Linked DNA regions of Homo sapiens: region 2 is linked to region 1. Evidence: promoter capture Hi-C in 16 types of primary human blood cells and fetal thymus (Javierre and others, 2016). All regions are on one chromosome and are shown on one strand. Each heading gives the region's core, a stretch centred on a gene start or on the middle of the fragment in contact. The rest is flanking DNA. Distances are from core to core; before and after follow the strand shown. Region 1 holds the start of PM20D1 (peptidase M20 domain containing 1). Region 2 overlaps RHEX (regulator of hemoglobinization and erythroid cell expansion).

The links. Contacts are between HindIII fragments. The CHiCAGO score rates a contact against its expected background, and 5 or more counts as called.
Region 2: a contact is called between a fragment that was not itself captured here and the fragment with the promoter of PM20D1 in region 1, in 1 of 17 cell types (endothelial precursors). The highest score is 5.9, in endothelial precursors.

Annotation. Positions count from the first base shown.
Region 1 is chr1:205,848,241-205,853,387 of GRCh38, reverse strand. PM20D1 (peptidase M20 domain containing 1) reads left to right here and starts at 3,256. Exons shown (of 13, transcript NM_152491.5): 1 at 3,256-3,484. The coding sequence starts at 3,316. RefSeq lists an enhancer at 3,033-3,327. The HindIII fragment of the contact is 2,085 bases long and covers 2,943-5,027 here.
Region 2 is chr1:206,092,757-206,097,660 of GRCh38, reverse strand. All of the region lies in intron 1 of RHEX (regulator of hemoglobinization and erythroid cell expansion), which reads right to left. Among named protein-coding and RNA genes, the nearest start is that of AVPR1B, 22 kb to the left of the region's middle. The HindIII fragment of the contact is 3,685 bases long and covers 1,407-4,904 here.

The sequences.
Region 1 (5,147 bases), core at 2,007-4,506:
ACTAATTATAAAAGAATATAATAATAAATTCAACTATATTATTAAGACTTCAACCCATCAAAAGGCCATTAAAAAAATAAAAACACAAGACACAAATGAAGAGAAATATTTATAATTTAAATAAAACTGACAAAATTTTAGACTCCACAATATATAGAAACCCTTAAAATTCAATAAGAAGACAGCTCTAAACAAAAATGGGCAATAGATATGAACAGTCATTTTACCAGAGAAACATGAATGGCAAATAAGCATATTTAAAGATGTTTAGGCCAGGCATGGTGGTTCAGCCTGTCATCTCAGCACTTTGGGAGACCAAGGCAGGAGGATCATTTGAGGCCAGGAGTTCAAGACCAGTCTGGGCAACATAGAGAGACACTGTCTCTATAAAAAAACTTCTAAAAATTAGCTGAAGGTGTTGGTGTTCACTTGCAATCTTAACTACTCAGAAGGCTGCGGCAAGAGGATTCTTTGAGCTCAGGAGTTGGAGGCTGCAGTGAGCTATACTTGTGCCACTGAACTCCAGCCTGGGTGACAGAGCAAGACCCTATGATAAATAAATAAATAAATAAATAAATAAAGCTTAAACTCTTTAACAAACTAGAGAGTACAAAATAATACCACAAGGAGATATTTTCCAGGCACTAAATGGGCAAAATGAAGATATTGGAAATGCCAATGCCAAGAGCTAGTGAGAAAGTGAAGCAACAGGAACTTATATACTATGCACTACCTTGCTGATTAGTATAAATTGTTCCAATCACTTTGGAAAATAATTCAGCCTTCTCTTGTAAAATAGAACATACAGTACAACACAGCATTTTCACTCCTAGATATATATTCCAGAGAATCTCTTTTACCTGTGGCCCAGGAGACATGTACAATAATGTCAATAGACTGTAGCAAGATATAACAGCATGCATAAATCCCACAAACAGTGTTGGGTAAAAAGAGCAAATTGCAGAAGACTACACACAACATGATGTCATTTTTATAAGATATACACACACACACACACTATACATATATGTATATCATACATATGTTGTAGAACTATTTAAAACACACAACACGGTCATACAATTACCTTGGGCAGGGAGTTGGAAAATAAAGGCAATAGAACACATGCACCTTCAATGCTACTGATAATTTTCCATGATTGGCTAGATCTGGGAACAGTGTGGGAATTAGACAGATTGCAAGAATTGGAGCAGTGACAGGAGAAAAAATGCAGTTTGACCAGTTAGGTCTAAACTCCAAATCACGGGTGTTCATGTTATTATTTACTTTACATACACGTTGTACGTACTCTTAATTATCAAATATTATGTGATAAGATAATTTAAAGAATATTTAAGGACCAGGAAGTGTTTATGACATAATGTTAAAGGAAAAAAAGCAGAACATAGAACTTTGGATGCAGTATATGCATCTGTTTCATTTTAAAACAGGGACATCCTTCATTTGTGGGTATTTGTGTGCAGAGAAAAAAGATTGGATAACATCAAAATATGATGAGTGAACGTCTCTGGATATTGGGATAGCATGTGATTTTTTTCTTTATACTTAATGTTCCAAATATTTCACAAGGGCATAAATATACATGAATTTTACAATCATAAAAATTGTGCTGGGTGTGGTGGCTCATTCCTGTAATACTAGCACTTTGGGAGGCTTAAATGGGAGGGTTGCTTGAGTCCAGGAGTTCAAGAGCAGCCTGGACAAAATAGTGAAACCCTATCTCTACAAAAATAATAATAATTTTAAAAAATAATAAATATATAAAATAAAAAGTCTCTTTTAAAAAAATTTTAAAGTTAGGTAGAGATTAAGCTACTTTTTACTAAAAATTATGTCAATGTTCATGTTTAAATTTCAACTCTATTTTTAACATTCTAAATCTTAAACTAGGTGGTGAATCCAGAAATGTTCATTATGTTATTTTTTATATCTTTATAATATGTGAAGTATTTCATGATACTGTTTTAAAGTTGCTATTAAAAAGTAACTAGGCAGGGTGTGGTGGCTCACGCCTGTAATCCCAGCACTTTGGGAGGTCGAGGTGGGCAGATCACCTGAGGTCGGGAGTTCGAGACCAGCCTGACCAACATGGAGAAACCCCATCTCTACTAAAAATACAAAATTAGCCAGGCATGGTGGTGCATGCCTGTAATCCCAGCTACTTGGGAGGCTGAGGCCAGAGAATTGCTTGAAACTGGGAGGCGGAGGTTGCGGTGAGCCGAGATCGCCCCATTGCACTCCAGCCTGGGCACCGAGAGAGAAAAAAAAAGAAAAGAAAAGAAAAGTAACTACATGGCTGAATTTTTTTTTTTAAGCAAATCTTAAATGAAATGCAAACACCAGGACTGTGAACCTGTAGCTTTGGTCACAGGTAGCAATATGGCCTTACTGGTTGTATAGCACTTACTGAATTTTTCTTGAGAATTCTAAAATTTGAGAGTGATGCCAGATAAAATTGCATCAAGAAATCTGAAAGGAACGATTTATTCTGGCTTCAGGAAATCTGATTTTATATTTCTGTGACATAAGACAGGTTTTCTTTTTTCCAGAATGATCCTCTACTCTGAATAACCATAAAATTTCACTTGTGGAATACATCAAAATTATTTATACATCAAAATTCTCTTAAATATTTTATAGTAATCTTTCTAAAAATCCTTCAGTCTTACTGTACTTGTCTAGAGTTGCAAAAATGTAGTGTTAACATTAATATTAAAAGCACTTTCAATGAAATTTCTAAACAGGAGCCAACCCTCTGAGCTGGTATTTCAAAGCAGTATCTATAAACAGAGCAATTTGTTCCAATTTCAGATGAAATCAAGCTGGGAACCTAGAGAGCTCCCCCGCCCCAGGATCTAGGGAATTGTAGTCAGGTTCTAAGCTTCGGAAAAAACGAGCAGCAGAGTATGGTCTGATAAGCTTCGTGCATTTTATTTTGCTTTTCCTCCTTTATTTGATTTGTTGTCATACAGGAAAGGATTTATGGGTGAGAGATCAAGTGCGGACCAGACATGACTCTAGCCTGGAGCCCGACCTCACCTCTGCTCTGCAGGAACTGCTGGCCTCAGCACGAAAACCCACAACCCTCGAAAGGCCTTAAGGATCCTGGGCGGGGTCATTCTGTCAATTGGTTGTTCCGCTGTCCTAGCGAAGCGATGATTGGTCAGATCTGGATATGGGGTGTGGCTAAGGCTGTTTGCCGGAATAAGAGCAGAGCTAGGGCCAAGAAACGCTAGTCTGGGCGTTTAGGTCAGAACTACCCCGGTAGCCTGACAGCAGGAGCTCGAGAGAAGCATGGCTCAGCGGTGCGTTTGCGTGCTGGCCCTGGTGGCTATGCTGCTCCTAGTTTTCCCTACCGTCTCCAGATCGATGGGCCCGAGGAGCGGGGAGCATCAAAGGGCGTCGCGAATCCCTTCTCAGTTCAGCAAAGAGGAACGCGTCGCGATGAAAGAGGCGCTGAAAGGTGAACCCGGGTCCCCTTCACCCACCTATGCTCATATGTGGGTCCCTCCCTCCCCAGGTCAACCCGTGACTCCCCGCTTCCGCCGCAAAGCATCTGCTACTGCAGCTGGAGCCCCGACACGCACCCCAGCCCGGCCCCAACACCCTTCCCAGCACATCGTGCCCCTGTCTGGGGACGCCACACTTCCCCCATACCTGGCTCCTGGAACTCTGGTGTGCCCTGCCTAACCTGGAAGCTCCAACTTCACCCCTCTTGGCGTGACCACCGTCCATTCTTTCCCCTGCTTGCCTCGAGTATTACACCAGCTTTCATTTGTACATCAATTTTAACCTTTGAAAGTTTGCATGCCTGATAAATTACTGCGGTGTCGTAAAATAAGACAAATGATATTAGTCTTATCTACAAAGGAGAGAAATTGAGGCTTAGGTCAGCTAAATGATCTTCCCCAGGGCCCCACAGCAAAGAGTGGGCAGTGGGTGACAGCATCTAGTGCCTGTCGGACTCGCTGGGATCAGATGGCTCTAAAGAAAGGGAGTGGAGTGTTCCCGGGGTGTGGGATGTTCCTAATTCTCAATCATAATTGAAGAACATGTCTCCTCTAGATCTCTAATCCAGACCAAAAATTCATCCCTGTTCTGAATCTGCATTTTCCAGGAAACAGGAAAGTTTCTGTTGAGTGCTAGATCCTATGGGATGAAATCCTTCTTTACCATTCAGCTTAGCTCCAGTCTTTTCCCTTTCATTAAGTAATGGATTAAGAGAGACTGCCTGCATAAACATATAGAAGCAGATGCAGGGACCAAAAGCTAACCCCAATAGTTGGATATAGATTGTTCATATGCTAGAGTGACAAGCCTGGGAGGCAGAGCAGGGCTTTCCCAAAGCATAAATAATTCTCTAAAAGGCATTAGACAGCCACTCACAGTCTGCACAGAAGAGAACAAAAGCTACATAAGCTAGAATAGGGACCTCATAGCAACACAGCTTGGAACTCTGAGCAGGGGACAGAACACCTGAGATCAGATCCTTGGGTCTGCCCTTGAGTAGGCACTTGAATCTTTCTGAACCTCGGCTTCCCCATCTATCTGGTGGGCTATGCTATTGTAGGGTTGATCCTTAGCAAAACTGATGAAGTTTGTCTTTCAGAGACCCTTCCTGCCTCAGGTGAATTTGTTTGCACTGTGTTCTTGGAGAGCAGTCTAATTCAATATTCTCATGATTCATGCTTTCCCTCCCAGTGGTTTTGTCTTTGATCATGGAACTCTTTAAAACTGTAAAGTCTTAAAGACTCAAAGGGATGAGCCCAGTGAAGGTTCAGGAACTGAGACAACTGAGTAAGGAGGGTGAGATTATTTTAGGACTGAGGAGTTTGTTTGGAGGCTTCTAAATCCACCCCTTCCCAGGCATTATATGCCCAAAAAGCTGGTCTTGGTTGACAGACTAGTGAGACTCTGCATAAGGAATAAGCCTTTACATACAAAAACACACAAGCCTCATTGATGTAGGGACCCAGGACAGTGGGTGCCTTGAGAATGATGAAGCTTGGATTCATCAAAGCAATTGGTGATTTCAGAGGTAGTGAGGCCTTAGGAAGCAATTTATAGTAGCTTCCCTTCAAGACCAGGATCCAAAAATCCACTTCCCTCCAATCTTAGACTGTATT
Region 2 (4,904 bases), core at 2,000-4,499, 240 kb before region 1:
TTGAGGATCAATTGTGACACATGCCCAGTTTATTCATCATACTTGCTTCAGTCCCCACTTTCCTACATGATACATTCTAGACACTTCTCCTAAAGAACCTTGATGAGTAAAGTGCACTTAACATTTTCACTCCCAGAGATTTCTGTTTAGTTTCGTTTATAAAAGTGGATTCAGAATCCAGATATGAGTTCCTTATTTGTTATAGATTCAGCATGTGAAAGGGGTAGGTGGGGAGTGAAAAGCAGCAATGTTCTAGATTAGAGAATTCCCCTTCCTGTTTGTGCTGGAGCCCTCTCTCCATTCGTCCATGCATCCAGTGCCAAGAAGCGCCACAGGTCACCTTGTTAGCAGCAGGGCTTATGGATTCTTTCTGTAGGACAGCTGTGACTTAGTTGCTGGTAAGGAGGGCTGCAGGGAGGCAGGAGGGAGGGACCCTGGGGACTGACCCAGACAGCGAGCGAGAAAAGACTCCAGGAAATTACCTGTCTCTCACCTCCTCAGAGTCCTCAGACAAATGGATAGAAAAATCCGATATTGCCCAATGATCAGCAAACTCCACAATGAAAGCTCAGTCAAAAGTGTCTTGGGCCAGGTAGGATGGCTTGCCCCTGTAATCCCAGCACTTTTGGAGGCTGAGGTGGGCAGATCACTTGAGCCTAGGAGTTCATGACCAGCCTGGGCAATATGGCGAAACCTCGTCTTTACTAAAAATATAAAAATTATCCCGGCATGGTGGCATGTGCCTGTGGTCCCAGCTACTTAGGAGGCTGAGGTGGGAGGATCGCTTGATCCCAGGAGGTCGAGACTTCAGTGAAGTGAGATGGTGCTACTGCATTCCAGCCTGGGTTACAGAGCAAGACCCTGTCTCAAAAAAAAAAACCAAAAAAAAAAAAAACAGGGGACTTGTGCACAAAATAAAAAATAAAAAGTGTAGAGCCAACACACTGGAAAGAAAACACAAGCATGATTGCAATAAAGCAAGACAGGGATTTCTTGAAGGATTTGGTGACTTGATTGAAAAAGGGGCAGAGCTGTCTTGAAAATGTCCTGCTCTTGTCTAATTTTGGATAAGCCCCCCTAAGATAAATTTCAGTACAGATGCTGATTTCTCAAGCCTCATCTGGGGTTCCTCAAGACCCCTGCCAGGGCAGCTGCACAAGGAAGACTGGACTTTACCAGAAGAGCTTTATTGTATCGTGAAAGAAATGAAAATTGTGGAAGGGGGCTAGAAGCTAGACCAGTGTGTCTGAGAAAACAACAATGTTCCATTTTTAAAGGAATTCTGGTGCTTTAGTATCGATTGTCTAATATTGAATATCTCATTTGTCCTTAATCACAGACATGATTCTCCCCTTGAGGGGGTTGGCCAGTAGGTTGCCTGGGCTGTCTTCCAATACTACACTCAAAGCTTTTATTTTTTAAGGCTCCTCTTCTACTTTATTTATTTAAAATTACACAACTAGTAGACATTTGTAGTCAAAGAATTAAAAATATGAATGAGCAACACGTTTTAGAAAATCGCCCCAAATTGAGCCGGACACAGTGGCTCATACCTATAACCCCAGCGCTTTGGGAGGCCGATGCAGGTGGATTGTTTGAGTCTAAGAGGTCAAGACCAGCCCGGGTAACATAGCAAGACCCCATCTCTAAAAACATACAAAAAAATTAGCTAGGTGTGCCTGGCACGTGCCTATAGTCTCAGCTACTCAGGAGGCTGAGGTGGGAGGATCACCCGAGTCCAGGTTGAGGCTGCAGTGAGCCATGATCATGCCACTGCACTCCAGTCTGGGTGACAGAGTGAGATCCTGTATCAAAAAAAAAAAATTACCCCAAATCTTTTTTTTTGAGATGGAGTTTTGCCTTGTTGCCCAGGCTGGAGTACAATGACACGATCTCGGCTCACTGCGACCTCCACCTCCCAGGTTCAAGCGATTCTCCTGCCTGAGCCTCCCAAGTAGCTGGGATTTCAGGTATGCACCACCATGCCCTGCTAATTTTGTATTTTCAGTAGAGACGGGGTTTCTCCATGTTGGTCAGGCTGGTCTCGAACTCCCAACCTCAGGTGATCCGCCTGCCTTGGCCTCCCAAAGTGCTGGGATTACAGGCGTGAGCCACCGCGCCCAGCCAAAATTACCCCAAATCTTATTCCATATCCTTCCAGAAAATTTTCTAAATATTTTCATGGATATAAGTGCATGTATATATGCAAATAATGTGTGTACACAGAGACAATGTCTTTAAAACATGGAATCATACAGATTGTTAGCTATTTTTTTACTCTTAATATATCGTAAACATGTTTTTTTGGTCAGGAAAAACCTCCCCTAAAAGGCTCCAACCAGGCGATCCACAGGCCACATTTGACACCTAATTTTTGTCTGATGAAGTGCTTTAGTGATTTGAATTTGTATGCCCCTAAACTGGGACATGATTTGTTCACTTCCTGACTAATCCCTAAAGGCATTTGAGTTTGCCACCTTTGAGTTTTACGGTATCATTTCGAATTCCTACCATTGCCCTTGATCAGTGTTTCTCGGTAGTATCTGACATTTGGAGCCAGACAAGTCCTTATTGTCTAAAACTGTCTTGCAGACGGCAGGTTGTGGAGCCTCCTGAAAGCCCCCCAGTGTAACAGGCCAGTGTAATGGCCAAAGGGACCCCAAATGACCCCACACATTTCCAAAGCCCCCTGAGGTAGGAGGGTTTGCTCTCAGTTGAGAATCACTGAATTTGATATATGTTCCATTATTTTAAGATTAATGCCTTATTTTGGCCCTTTATACAAAACTAGATTGCCTACACCATCTTCCACATTTTAATATATTCTGAGCATATACTCAGAGCGTACACTTTGGGATAGCGAGGTGGAAGGATCACCGAGGCCGGGAGTTTGAGAAGAGCCCGGTGACAGAGTAAGACCCTGTCTCCCTTACTAGCCAAATGACACACAGCAGCTCATCCAAATGAAAACAGTAAATAATACGGACGTCCAACATTCTTAAATACTAATTTCAGTTCAGTTCCCTTCTAGATGTTAATTATTGAATTCAGTGTCTCAGTTTAATAATTTCAGTATCTATAAAGTGAGAAGAATAATAGTTTCCTACTTCACAGAGTTCTTGCATGAGCTCAGTGATTTATGCTGTTTGTAAAGACCTTTATACAATTCCAGGCATATACGAGGCACTCAGTAATTATTAGGTATTATTCAACCCTAAAATCCTCCACCACGATGGTGACTAGAACTATTAAAAATTGGATTGGTCTATTTTAGAAAACTTAGGCATTTGTTTTGAGTACAGTTTGGAGATAAGATCCAAGGTATGAAAATTATGACAGATGTCATTATTTAAGTGGCTAATGGCCCCTAACCACAATGAGCAGGTTGTTCCTTGGGGTCTAATTGCAGACTGCTGATCAGACAATCAGCAGAGACATCTGCTCATTTGCGCGTGCACGTGACACACACACACACACACACACACACACACCAAATAACCAGGAAATGGGCAATTTAAGGTAATTATGTTGTGAAAAAGCGCATGGACTGTGTGAGGGTTTGGTGTGCCTCGTTCCATCCTCGAGGTAGGGACGGTTCTGTCCTCTTCCACTGTGCTGAATTTTGACATCCAGCCCCCACACTAATGTAGTGCCCTGCCAGGCACCTCAAAACCAAACTTTAGGCTGGGCACGGTGGCTCATGCTTGTAATCTCAGCACTTTGGGAGAGCGAGGTGGAAGAATCACTTGAGACCAGGAGTTTGAGAAGAGCCTGGGTGACAGAGTAAAACCCTGTCCCTCCTCCCCCGACCAAAAAAAACCCTACTTCGTCCCAGTGCTAAGAGCATTTATTTTGTTTGCTTCAGACTTGAGTTAAGGCTGGATTCCATTTTATTAAGTTTCCCTCCTCCACTGATACAGGAGCTTTCTCATGGCCTTTCCAATAGGTACAGCGTAATATCAGGGGGAGAATAAAAAGATGCCCACTTTCCTGCCATACACCATGCTTTCTTTGGATAGGTTTATTCTAGAAAGAACGGTTTAAAACAAGATCACAATAGAAGATGATTTCTATGAAAAATCATATGGATTAGGCTAGGCGCAGTAGCCCACACCTGTAATCCCAGCACTTTGGGAGGCCGAGGTGGGTGGATCATGAGGTCGGGAGTTCAAGACCAGCCTGGCCAAGATGGTGAAACCCCGTCTCTACTAAAAATACAAAAATTAGCCGGGCATGGTGGCAGGCACCTGTAATCCTAGCTACTCGAGAGGTTGAGGCAGAGAATTGCTTGAACCCAGGAAGCGGAGGTTGCAGTGAGCTGAGATCACGCCACTGTACTCCAGCCTGTGTGACAGAGCAAGACTCTGTCTGAAAAGGAAAAAAAAAAAAAGAAAAATCATATGGATCAAAGTAATTATAATCAACATTGTCAACTGACTTTATTAATCTTTTCAAATGAAGTAGCTGTAAACTTTCTTTGCTGTCTCCATTAATTTGTTGTTTTTAACATTAGCTAAGGTATAATGGAAAGAGAACAAAAAGAAGGGAGAACAAAAGAAGGGGAAAGAAGGGAGCTAGGGCCTGCCTTCTCCTGGCTCTGTCACTTGCTAACGGTGTGACTTTGGACAGGGAGATGTCCCCTCTAGGCCCTGGTGAATTAGGGAGCTTGGCAAAGTACTCCTAAGGCTCTTTTCAGCCCTGAGCATCCTGCTCTTTAAAGGCTGGGGTGAAGTAAGGCGAAAAGAAAGCAAAGCTGGATGGAAATGGAAAATTTAAAAATAAAAAAATCTTTATTTCCATTTTGTAACATTCAGCCTCCTCCACATTGCTAGACTTTCTCTCCCAGTTTAATATGCAGTTTCCAATAATCAAGAAAAGGAGGAAACACAAATAAACCAAATTAA